Regions from separate parts of the Homo sapiens genome. Here region 1 is linked to region 2. Evidence: promoter capture Hi-C in human tissues and cell types (Jung and others, 2019). All regions are on one chromosome and are shown on one strand. Each heading gives the region's core, a stretch centred on a gene start or on the middle of the fragment in contact. The rest is flanking DNA. Distances are from core to core; before and after follow the strand shown. Region 1 overlaps ATPAF1 (ATP synthase mitochondrial F1 complex assembly factor 1). Region 2 holds the start of ATPAF1 (ATP synthase mitochondrial F1 complex assembly factor 1).

Region 1 (6,076 bases), core at 3,363-5,862, 37 kb after region 2:
CAGTAAACATTCACCAGATGTCACTCTGCAGAGATATAAAACAAACCACGGTCTATGTCTTTGAGGAATTTGTACTAGGGAAAATAGACAAAAAAAGAAAAGGAAAAATACAATACAGTGTGATAAATACTATGACAGTGGTAAGCACAGGATGATTTGGTACACAGAGAAGGGGCACCTAACCAAGACTAGGGACTTCAAGAAGTTAAGGAAACTTTCTGGAAGTGGTGACTCCTGGGCGAGGGCCCCCACCCACCACACAATTCAGACAAGAGCTTTGTGGCCCTGTGCAAGAAAGGACCTCATTATTCTTTTTACCTTACAGAATGTTGCTGAGGCACAGTGCATCGCCAACCAAGTTCAGCTCTTCTACGCTACTGATCGGAAAGAGACCTACGGGTTAGTGGAGACCTTTAACCTCAGACCAAATGAGTTCAAATATATGTCTGTCATCGCTGAATTGGAGCAAAGCGGACTTGGAGCAGAACTGAAATGTGCCCAGAACCAAAATAAGACTTAGAACTGTACAGGTTGGCCCTTCACCTAGTTGACTCAGCCCTCGATAGTCTAGAGCCCACCCCCTCCTCAGGAACTCAAGAGCTCAGCATTTATAATGAGCAGTTGGTAATGAGTTGCCCTATGTGCTTGTCGCAAGCAGTCACAGAGATGAGCCCTATTACTTGATATTCAGGAACAAAGGTACCTGAACATTCTGATAATTATCTCAGCATACTTGAGGTTTCCTTTTTTAAGTGTTCGAGGTTATAACAAGAGACAGCCAAGGACCTACAAGACAGTTGACTTGATTTTGCACAGTGTAACAGCGCAGTTGCATTCTGGCCACTTTGACCTTATAGCTCCCAAATGATGAGTTTGTCATCTTTATGAACTCATGACAGGATAATAAGCTTGAAGACCTGCTGTAGTTAGATATGGGCTTTAATCCTTCCCAGGCACCAGTCAGCTGAACAAAAGCATAAGCCAAACATCCTGTTTAAACTGTAGAATAACCAGATATTCCCATCAGGTTAAAGACTTCATCTAGATGATGCCCCCCAGAGATGCCTTTAGTGTAAGTAGCTGGCTTGGGGTATCAGCAAATTTCAGGTATAGTTAGATAAACAGGTACAGGGCCTGCATACTATTAAACCATAGTTTGTGGCACCCGCTTTTCTAACTCCACCTGTTAGAAGCTATGTGTTTGAAGGAATGAATCAGTGCAGTATAAATAAAATTCTTTTGTAAGGAGAAGATTAATCCTGGTTTGCATGATTTTTTTAAAAACAACTCTAAACATGATACGAAAAAGTGGATGAAAGCAAATGTTCCCAGATTGGATGTGGGGAAAATATAGCAATAATTTTTTTTTTAAGTCTGGCTTACAATGTTTGTTATACAAAATAATGAAATCTGAGTTATGTACTGTCCATTGTGTCAGGGCTATGGGCTGATTTTATCAAAACTCATCTTGGGACTGAAAAATTGTTTGGAATGCCAGAAATAAGAAAGTTGTTCTCCAGAGCTGGAAACCCATCTTTCGTTTGTAGTGTCACTGTTGTGGCTCCAAGCTCAGTGATAGGAAAGGACGGTGGTTACACACCAGCCTTCTGAACCCAAGGCCCCCAGTATTGTTGTCAGCTGCCTTTACCATGGCATTTCTTTCTCTTTCTTTTTTTCCTGAGATGAAGTCTTGCTCTGTCTTGCCCAGGCTGGAGTACAGTAGCGTGATCTCAGCTCGCTGCAACCTCTACCTCCCTGGTTCAAGTGATTCTGCTGCGTCAGCCTCCTGAGGAGCTAGGATTACAGGCGCATGCCACCATACCTGGCTTATTTTTGTATTGTTGTAGAGACAGGGTTTCACTTTGTTGGCCAGGCTGGCTGGTCTCGAACTCCTGGCCTCAAGTGATCCACCACCTTGGCCTCCCAAAGTGCTGGGATTACAGGTGTGAGCCACCGTGCCTGGCCTGACATTTCTTTATTGATCTAACATGCTCCACTCTGCTGCTCCTGCCTAAGATCTGGTTATATGACACTGAATGTGGTGAGTGGGAATTTAAGCAGTATTCGCAGTTTGTGTGTGTGTGTTTTCTTCCTTCCAGAAGAATTTTTATAGGTTGGGCCTGTCCCTAAGCTCTTTAAATAGGGTGGACATCCCACTATTCTCTGAGCCGTGTCTATTTTGTTGCACCTTTGAGTCTATGTATTGAGAGAGACAGATAGTATTTTTTTAAACTGGGGAAGCTGCTATCCTTTCACTATTTCTCTAAAGGTTGAGCTGTTAACTAATGTAAATTCTGGACCTGCTTCTGGTCCTGGCAGTTTATCTTTTGAGAAACTTGAGTCTTATCTGCCCTGCCATTTTCATTAAATGCCTTCTGACCTTCTGAATGTTTTGGGTCCCAAGAATTTTTGACATCAGATGGGGTTGTTTTTATTGGTATCCAGTTATGTTTGCTTGTCTTTCCAGATGGGCCCAGTTATTAGCCATACATAGTACATTGATACACCTCCACCAGCGGGTGAGGAAATGATGGAAAAAGGAGTAAGAAGTGGCCATTCGTTTTAATCATTCCTCCTGGATTTGTCCTCAGTCCCCAACTGCCAAGTAGGATGTGTCCATGGATAAATGTGTGGGGCATGACTAAAGTACCACGTAGCTGTTCTTTATATTTATTTACCTAGAAAGATCTGGCAAAGAACTCAAAGAAAATTGTACCATTTAATCAGTAAATTTGTCCCCTGGTGCTAGCATGGTGTTATAGAAAGTGGACAGGCTTTAGAGTTAAGTGAATCTGGGTTCATATGTTAGTGTTGCTATTCATTAGCTCTATACTGTTGAACAAATTGCTTAAACTATCTAATTTTGGGGTTTTTTTTCCATCTAAAATAGGGATAATAATATCTACCTCATAGGATTATTGTGAGAATTAAATTAACTTCACTATAGTAGAAAATATCAACTACCATCCTTTTCTCTACTTCCCTTGCCCCTCATTAAAGACTAATACAAGTTAGCATTTCAGATGTGTAGATCATTCTTTATTCCAGTTAAAAGAACAAACTTTATCTCATCAGTTCTGAAACTTTAAGATGCAGTAGCATCACCTAAAGTGCTTTTAAAATGCAGATTCTCAGGCCTCAACCGTACACCACCCCCCCACACACGTACTAAATCAAGAATATGTGCAGAAGGTACTGGGAATCTACTTGTTAATATGTGCTCCAAATGATTCTGATGTAGGTAATTAGCCAGCCACACTTTGAGAACCACTGCCTTATCTATTCTTTACAAAAATGTACATTGCCAGGTCTTTCTTTCCTGTGGATGCTAACTATAGGATATTTAGGTTCCTCTGTTCTTTGTCTCCCATAGTGGCCCCCTTTGCAAACTCCAAATACATTATATTTATTTATTCTTGTGTCTTTTTTCCCCCACTAGACTGTGAGCTCCTTGAGGGCCAGGACTTATCTCTGTTCGCAGTGCCAAGGACATGGCCTGGACCATAGAAGATACTCAGTTTTTTGTTGAATAAATAGGTAATATGGATTTCAACCAAAACATTGTCTTGTGTATGTACCTGCATGTAAATACTCTAGATTTAAAAGAATCTCTTAATACACATAGATCGAGAATTTGTTGAGTAGAAATATTTGCAAACCAAGATACCAAGTTATACACAGTTCTCTGTACCTCACCTAATCCACTGGCATTACCTTGGTGGACCATTACACAGTACAACTTAACAGCTGCTCACAGAGCATCTATTCTGCAGCCACTATGTTAAGTGCTGGACACAGAAAGATGAGTAGAGTATGATTCCTGCTCGCAGGCTCTGTTTTAGCCACTGCCTGTTTCTCTCTTGCCTCTGATTCAGTGCCTCACACCTACACCTGATTATAGTTTGCTTTGTCTAGTTCTTGGATGTTCATACTGGTACTTCTTTCTTCTCCAACCAGTTTGGAAGCTGGAGCCACATGTTTTGCTTTGCACTCTCCATACTGACCTTTTGTTCAGTCTTGGAGAAGAGGTACTAATGCCCACTTCCTAGTCATTTGATTTGGCATTGAGTCAGCATTCATTCACACTTATTGAGCACCTTTTTGCCAAGCACTGTTATAAAAAACTGGATAATATAGCAATGAACATGGCAAATAAGGCTCCTGTTCTCATGTAGTTTATATTCTTGTAAAGAAGACAAGTAAATCAATAAAATTATTTTACATACTGGTAGTGCTATGAAAATTTAAAAATAATATTTTAGACTATGGAGTGGAGGCAATAACTTAATGGTCAGGAGAGGCATCTCTGCAGCAGTGGCAGCTGATACATGAGCTGGGGAAAGAGAACCAGGTAAAGAGAACAGCAAGTGTTAACGCCCCGGAGCAGAGCCAAGCTAGGAATGCTTGTTTCTGGACAAATATAAAGATTCAGTATCTACCCTTTAGGAGCCTACAGTTCAGCGGCATGACCTGACATGAATGATTACAATACAAGACAAACTGATCAATGCCGTCTCAGAAGGGGCAAAGAGAGTTAAGGAACTCCCCCCGCATGCTATGGAGGATGCAAAGCTTGCCAGGCTCTGGTACCCACCCATGAAGCACTTATGGCTTAATGGGGAATAACAGGTAGACAGTGTTAAAGTCTCAAAGGCTATATGTTTCTTGCAATAGACAAGAGGTACTGTGGGTTCAGTGCTGGCCTCCCAAGCTACAGTCACGTACTACATAACAATGTTTTGGTCACGTTAGATTGCATATGCAACTGTGGTCCCATAAGATTATAATGGAGCTGAAAAATTCCTATTGCCTAGTGACATCATAGCTGTGGTAATGTTATAGCACAATGCATTATGTGTTTGTGGTGATGCTGGTGTAAATCTACTACACCAGCATAGTGTATAGGGGTATAGGGTATAAAAGTATAGTGTACAGGGGCCGGGTACGGTGGCTCACGCCTGTAATCCCAGCACTTTGGAAGGCCGAGGCAGGTGGATCCCTTGAGTTTAGAAGTTCAAAACCAGCCTGGACAGCATAGCGAGACCTTGTCTCTACAAAAAAAATTTAAAAATTAACTGAGCGTGGTGGTGCACGCCTGTAGTCCCAGCTACTCAGGAGGCTAAGGTGGGAGGATCACTTGAGCCCGGGAGGTTGAGGCTACAGTGAGCTGGGATCACACTGCTGCACTCCGGCCTGGGCCACAGAGCAAGACCCTATCTCAAAAAATAAAAAGGTATAGTGCATAAAACTATGTACAGTACATAATGCTTGATAGTAAATGACTATTACTGGTTTATGTATTTACTGTATTATTTAGAGTGTGCTCCTTCTACGTATAAAAAATACTAAGTCAATTGTAAAACAGCCTCAGGCAGGTCTCTCAGGAGTTGTTCCAGAAGAGGGCATTGTTCTTATAGGAGAGGACAGCTCCATGTGTGTTATTGCCCCTGAAGACCTTCCAGTGGGACAAGATGTGCAGGTGGAAGTCAGTAATGTTGATGATCCTGACCCTGTGTAGGCCTAGGCTAATGTACATGTTTGTGTCTTAGCTTTTAACCAAAACATTTAAAAAGTAAAAAATAAAATTTTTTAAAGAAAAAAGCTTACAGAATAAAGATAGAAAATATTTTATACAGCTATACAGTGTGTTTTAAGCTAAGTGCAATTATAAAATAGTCAAAAGTTTTAAAAATTAAAAAGTTTATAAAGTTAAAAAGTTATAGTAAGCTAAGGTTATTGAAAAAAGAAAAATATTTTTATAAATTTAGTGTACAGTGTTTATAAAGCCTACTGTAGTGTACAGTAATGTCCTCCTCAGTCTTCATATTCACTCAGAACTCACTCACTGACTCATCCAGAACAACTTCCAGTCCTGCAGGCTCCATTCATTGTAAGTGTCCTATACAGCAATATCATTTTTTATCTTATACTGTATTTTTACTGTACCTTTTCTATGTTTAGATACGATAGATAAGTATTTACCCTTATATTACAGTGTCCACAGTATTCAGCACAGTAACATGCTGTACAGGTTTGCAGCCTAGGAGCAATAGGCTATATGCCATCTAGGTTTGTA
Region 2 (6,018 bases), core at 2,588-5,087:
CATTCAGCTGTGATAGTCCTGGGCTATTGATAGTATCTTCTCTGGTTGATCAGAGCATGGTCTTTGCCTTAAAATAATTCTTAGTTTTCTAGAGTAGACTATCTCCTAACTGCTTAGCTCTCCTCCAGGCAGCCAGGCACTGTCCCATCCATGCAAAGGGCCTTCCCTGAGTGTTTGTCCCCAAGCCCTAAGGCACAAGTCCAGTGACAGGGACTGGAGGAGCACTTACTCCCAGGGAAGCGCAGGTCCTCCTGTTGGGAATCCATACAGCTGAGCTTTGGTACCTGGCCGATGGCTCTGGGGAGAGGGAACTCACCCACCCATCTGCCCAGCCAGTCAGCCCATCTGCCCAGCCAATCAGAGTCTCCAGAATGCCCAGGCCCTTTGTTCTCTAAAGGAGAGGTCACTGGGTTCTGAGAATTGGGCATTCTAGGGGCAGTGCTTGTGAAGTGGTCCTGGGTTAATGGAAGGAGGGGACTTCATCCAGTGGCATTTTTTGGGTGGAATGTCACTACTACTTCCATCAGAGACTGGTTCACCTATTGAATTGTCTGTACCTACCCCTTATGGTGAACCCACAGAGCAGACCCCAGAAAAGGGCCATTGTCCCTCAGGTACTTACGGATGTTGCTGGTCTTTAGGGAACGGTTGATGGGATACCTGTCCCCAGTGAGGAATGTAACAAGGAACACACAGCATTGGGCAGCCCTGTTCTCAAAAAGTATCTAACCAAGTTGGCAGGAAGAAACCTGCTCAAGGGAACCAAGTGGTCAATACCTCCTTCTTTGGCTCCAACAATCTGTCTTTTATTTAATTACCTTCCTTCAAGTGCTGACAAGTGTTTCCCAGGCCCCAGGCCCTGTGGGGCTTCCCACCATCTGGCCTGCATCTACTTCCAGCCTTACTTCCCTCCTCGTCCTCCACACACTTTTCCCTTTTGCCTAGTCCGTACTCCTGAACAGACCCTGCTCATTCACATCTCTGGAGGTGTGCCCATGCTGCTCCTTCACCCAGGAGTGCCCCTGCCCACTTTTCCACCACTGAACACCTGCTCATCCTTCAAGACTCAGCTCAGCCCCCCTACTCTGTGACAGACTGCCCAGAATCATATCATCGCCAATTTGAAGAAACTTTGAGAGTTGTCTAGTTCATCTCCACCATCTGATCCCACCATCAGGGCCATGCTTGACTCCTGGGGGTAGATTTTTCCCCACACAGCAACTAATCTCCCTGGACTCAAGACTCACTTGAGTCAGGAACTTGCTCACCACCTCCTGAGGCAGCTTGATGCATTTATGGGCAGCTCAGTTAGAAAGCCCTTCCCTAATTAAGCTTAAGTCAGCCTTCCCAGTATGTTGCACCACTGCTTGTAGCTCAGCTTCTTAGCACCATTTTAATGACTCCCCTCTTTATAGTCCTCCAATGTGTGACTTAGGGAACTATTTAGCACAGAATTCTCTCCAGGGTCCACTTACCCTTGTTCTCCTCGTATATCACTGGCCCCTACTTTCCAGTCTCCTTTGCTGGTTTCTCCCTTTTCCCCTGATCTCTAAATGTAGGCATGTCTAGGGCTCAGTTCTTAGTGCTCTATCTACATTCATTCCATCAGTTATCTCACCCAGACCCCTGGCTTTAAATATCACTATACACTGACAGTACGCAACTGTATCTCTCCAGCCTGGAATGCTCCTCAGAACTTTAGACTCATACCCAAATACCTGGTTGACATCCCTCCTTGCCAGTCTGTTAAATTATCCCAAACCAACATGTCCAAAACCAAACTCTGATTATCCATCCTCCAAAGTCTACCCTACCTACAGCCTTCCTCCTCTTCATAAGTAGTATCTCTGTCCTTCGGGTTGTTCAGGCCAAAAACCTGCAAGTCATCCTTGACTCCTTTCATTCTATCACACCCACACTGACTCCATCAGCAAGATCTTTAGGCTTTTATTTCAAAATATAACCAAAATCTGGCCACTTTTTTTTATCACTATCACTTTAGTCCAAGTACCACCATCTCTCACTTGGATTACTGTTCCCTGTAGGGTGACCAACATCCTGGTTTGCCCAGGACTTGGGGTGGGTTCTCAGGACATGGGGCTTTCAATGCTAGAGCCAAGAAAGTCCTAGGCAAACTGGAATAAATTAGTCACCCTTGGGAGAGTTTCCATCCTTGCCTCCACATATCCTAAATCCCACCAGCAGCCAGCATGATCCTTTTAAAAAGTAGATCATGTTACTCCACTGCTTAAAACATATAGTAACTTCCGATCTCATTCGATTTAAAATCAAAGTCCTTAACCAAGGCCTAAGCAATCTAACTAGCCCTCCCTATACCTTCTTGGTCTCATTTCTGCTGCTGTGCCCTCACTCATTCAGACTCAATAACCTCCTCATCAGGGCCTTTGCACTTGCTGTTTCCCCTACCTGGAAGGCTCTTCCCCCAGCATTCCCACATTACCTTCAGGTCTCTGCTCAAGTGTCCCCTTATCTCTATCTCTCTTGGCCTGCTGTTTTTCTGCATACCATGTAGCATCACCTAACATTATATATTTACTGTCTGTTTCACTCCACTAGAATGTAAGCTCAATGAATTAATATAAACAAGGATCTAAGAACTTCAGATAATGATAACTGCTATAAAGAGAATGCAATAGAGTGATGGGATAAAGACTATAAAGAGATGGAGGGGTTGTCATTTAGGTCCCTTGGAGGTGCTTACATGTGAACTGAGCCCTTAGATGATGAGGAGGCAGCCACATGCAGATCCACAGAGAAAACAGCAAGTGTTAGGAGTGTGAGCCAGGTATGGGCTGGCATACTTGAAGGACTTATTCATCTTCCATTACACTGTTCCTCGCACAGGGCAGGGCTCAGGGCTGATCTCCATGAGCATAGGTTGGATTGAGCAGAGTTGAAGGCTCTGCCCCTGTCCCAGGAGGGGCTTCAATCAGACAAAACCCAGACAAGAAGGACCTGATGATGAGTACTGTCCCAGAGAGCCCACTCCAGGACTGGCCCTGTTCTGTGAGCAGGTGGGACACAGAGATGTTAATGTCACTGTCCCTGACCCTAGGAGCTCACACCTGGTTCAGACGGTAAGGAAGATTGTGGCATTTGGGTTGAGAGAATGGAAGGAGAGAGGATTCCAGGGGTCAAAAAGGGCCTGAATAAGGACTCTTCAAGGAGTAATCCTGGTGTTTCTTTGGGAGAGAATAGGTCACTGTGGCTGGAGTTCAAGGAGGATGTCAGGAAGCAGAGGAAAAGGAGGCTTGGGAGGCAGCTGCCATCTTGAAAAGAGCTCAGCTGTCGGGTAGAACTTGAACAAGTCACATAATTACTCTCGGCCTCAGTTTCCTTATTTGTTAGATGAGGATAATACTGCCACACAGAGTATGAAGCCGCTCAGTGTCCTGCACATAGCAACCTCAGTAAAGAGAAGCTTGCTGCTGTGATTATAGTTGATGAAAAGACCTTCGATGCTGAAGGACGGACTACTACATCGAGTGCCTGGCACTACAGCGAGTGCCAGGGGCAAGCACCGCGAGGACATGGAGATCCGCTGGCTTTAGAGAACGGACTTGGCGCGCAGAGGCTGCTGGTCCCAGAGGGAGGAAGGGCGTTGAATTTGGGCAGCCTCCCTGGAGGAGGCGGGCCGTGGCATACACAGGGCGGCGAGAGCGCGCAGTGCCGGGGCCAGAGCGGCGCGCCCCCTCCTCCCCGCCCCGCCTCGCCGCTATCCCGCGCCCGGAACCTTGGGCGCGCGGAACCTCGGTGCCGGAGCGCGGGCGCGGCGCACTCGGAGCGGGATGGAGCGGGCGCGCGGGCCGCGGGCCGAGGCCGACGCGCCTGAGGAGGAGGAGGAGGCGGGGGCGGCCATGGCTGCTGTGGTGGTGGCGGCTGCGGGTGGCGCGGGACCGGCGGTCCTGCAGGTGGCCGGTCTCTACCGGGGCCTGTGCGCGGTGCGCAGCCGCGCCCTGGGCCTGGGGCTCGTGTCACCCGCGCAGCTGCGCGTCTTCCCAGTGCGCCCCGGCTCGGGCCGGCCCGAGGGGGGCGCCGACAGCAGCGGGGTCGGGGCCGAGGCCGAGCTCCAGGCCAACCCTTTCTACGACCGCTACCGCGACAAGATCCAGCTGCTGCGCAGGTGCGGGCCTGGGTTGGCTGGAGGCGGGCAGGAGGCGGGAGGAGGGGCGGCCCGGGCTGCTGGGCCTTAGGACAGCCCTGTGAGGTGGGCACTAGTACTGTCCCAGCTCTTCAGATGATGTAGCCAGGCTCCGCGAGGCTAGGTCACTTGCCCAAGATCACACAGCTAATTGGTGTCAGAGCTGGGAGTCTCTGCAAAGCCCTGGCTCGTTCCACGTTTGTCTGCTTTGGTTCTCCAAACGCTAAGGTGGACTCTTATGACAGCCCTGAGGCAGGCAGCTCAGAGACACCTGTCCTCATTATAGAAATGGGAAAACGCCTTCTAGAGAAGGGACTTGACTTGCTCAAGGTCACATATTAAGATAGCTGAGGCCTGGCTCAGAGCTGGAGTTCCCAGGCTGGTGGTAGCTTAGGGCCTTGACTGCAAGGAAAGGCGACTGGGGATGGGAGGAGGGCATCAAAGACTAATAGTGTCACAGTCGGATCACCCATTGAACCCTCTTAAGGAGACTGAGGATCAGCGAGAGTAAGAGACTTGCCAAAGGTCACACAGCTGTTTGGGATTTGTCTGACTCTGAGTCCAGGGTCCCTAACACCACCTCTTAGCTTCCAGAGGGAAGGATCTGGAGCTTAGAGGGGCTTAAGGTGCATATGAGGGGCTATAGGAGCATCTGAAGAGTTCAAGTGGGAAGAGCTAAAGGAGATCAGAGGTGAAAATTAAAGGGGCTTGGGAGAGAATTTAGCAGGGTAAGAAGGTAGTTGTCTTATGAAAGGAAACCAAAGACTTAGTACTGTAAATTTGAGTTCTGTCTCATCTCTACTTCCACTGCCTTAATCTACTCCATCATCGTCACCTGGGCTGTTGCCATTATCCTCTAACTAGAGTTCCCTACTTCCATTCCTGGACTACTTTACCCCAGTTCCTCTCACTGCTACTGTAGTGATCTTTCTTGCCATTTGAAACAGTTATGCAGTAAATGAATGAGTATTTTTGCTCTCCTTCCAGCAGCATTGAGATAGTCTCAAGTATTTGTCATCTTAAAAGCCTTTCTTTGATGTACATTCCCCTCCAGGCTTCTCTCGTTGATCTGTATTTGATCTGTTTTACACACAAGCATCTCTGAAGAGTTGTCTACTTGTACTTTGAATACTTTATCAGCATCCATTTATTCTTACCCACTCATGAACAAATAAATAACTGGTTTTACCGTCCTTCCCCACTGGATCATTCCCATCAACATTTACACATACTGTTATCCCCCCACTGACCTCTAAATAACATCCAAACTCCTTAATGTTTCACACAAGTTCCTCATACCCTAGTCCCTGCCAGTCTCTCTCTAGTTTTATCTGTTAGCAAACTTCCTTTGAAAAAGAATGGAGAGGAGGGGATGTTCCAGGTAAGGGGAGCAGCAACATAAACAAAGGTACAGAGGCATGAAACCACCTTAACCATTTGGGGATGTTTGAGCAAATTTTCATCATAATACCTGTTGTACTTTCATTTGTTTACTTTTATGCCTGTCTCTCCCACTGGATAGTGAGCTCCTTGAGGTAGGGAGTCTGACTTATTTATTTCTATATCCTCAGATCCCAGCAACAGCTTCACTGCCCAGGCTGTCCCTTGCCCTCTCTACCCCTTCACTATGGCAGGCCCAGTTGCAGCTGTAGCCACTAGCAGGGTTGACCCTGGTCCTGGTACAGCCCCCAGGGCTGCTTGCAGCTCTGGCCAGGCAGGTGCCATGCCCGACTAAGCAGAAACCCCTGGTGAGGCTCTTTATTGAGGAGGAGCCGGCCCACTACAGAGAGAAGAAAAACATCCCATCTACATGACAGTGAAGGGAGTGGTGTTTTATGTCACCTCCAGAAAGGAAT

Evidence for each region. The method cuts DNA at HindIII sites, captures the fragments that hold promoters and counts their contacts. A contact is called where the count stands out against the background at its distance.
Region 1: a fragment that was not itself captured here is called in contact with the fragment with the promoter of ATPAF1 in region 2 in 1 of the 25 tissues and cell types used here (neural progenitor cells).

What each region holds. Positions count from the first base shown.
Region 1 is chr1:46,630,220-46,636,295 of GRCh38, reverse strand. ATPAF1 (ATP synthase mitochondrial F1 complex assembly factor 1) reads left to right here. Exons shown (of 9, transcript NM_001394565.1): 9 at 326-3,559. The coding sequence ends at 520. Among named protein-coding and RNA genes, the nearest start is that of MOB3C, 16 kb to the right of the region's middle. The HindIII fragment of the contact is 3,743 bases long and covers 2,741-6,076 here.
Region 2 is chr1:46,666,183-46,672,200 of GRCh38, reverse strand. It overlaps ATPAF1 (ATP synthase mitochondrial F1 complex assembly factor 1), which reads left to right and starts at 3,837. Exons shown (of 9, transcript NM_001394565.1): 1 at 3,837-4,144. The coding sequence starts at 3,879. It overlaps TEX38 (testis expressed 38), which reads right to left and starts at 347. Exons shown (of 2, transcript NM_001145474.4): 1 at 230-347. The coding sequence starts at 266. It also overlaps the pseudogene NENFP1. RefSeq lists enhancers at 3,388-3,537, 5,333-5,861, 5,862-6,018 and silencers at 4,050-4,220, 3,648-4,267. The HindIII fragment of the contact is 2,569 bases long and covers 2,388-4,956 here.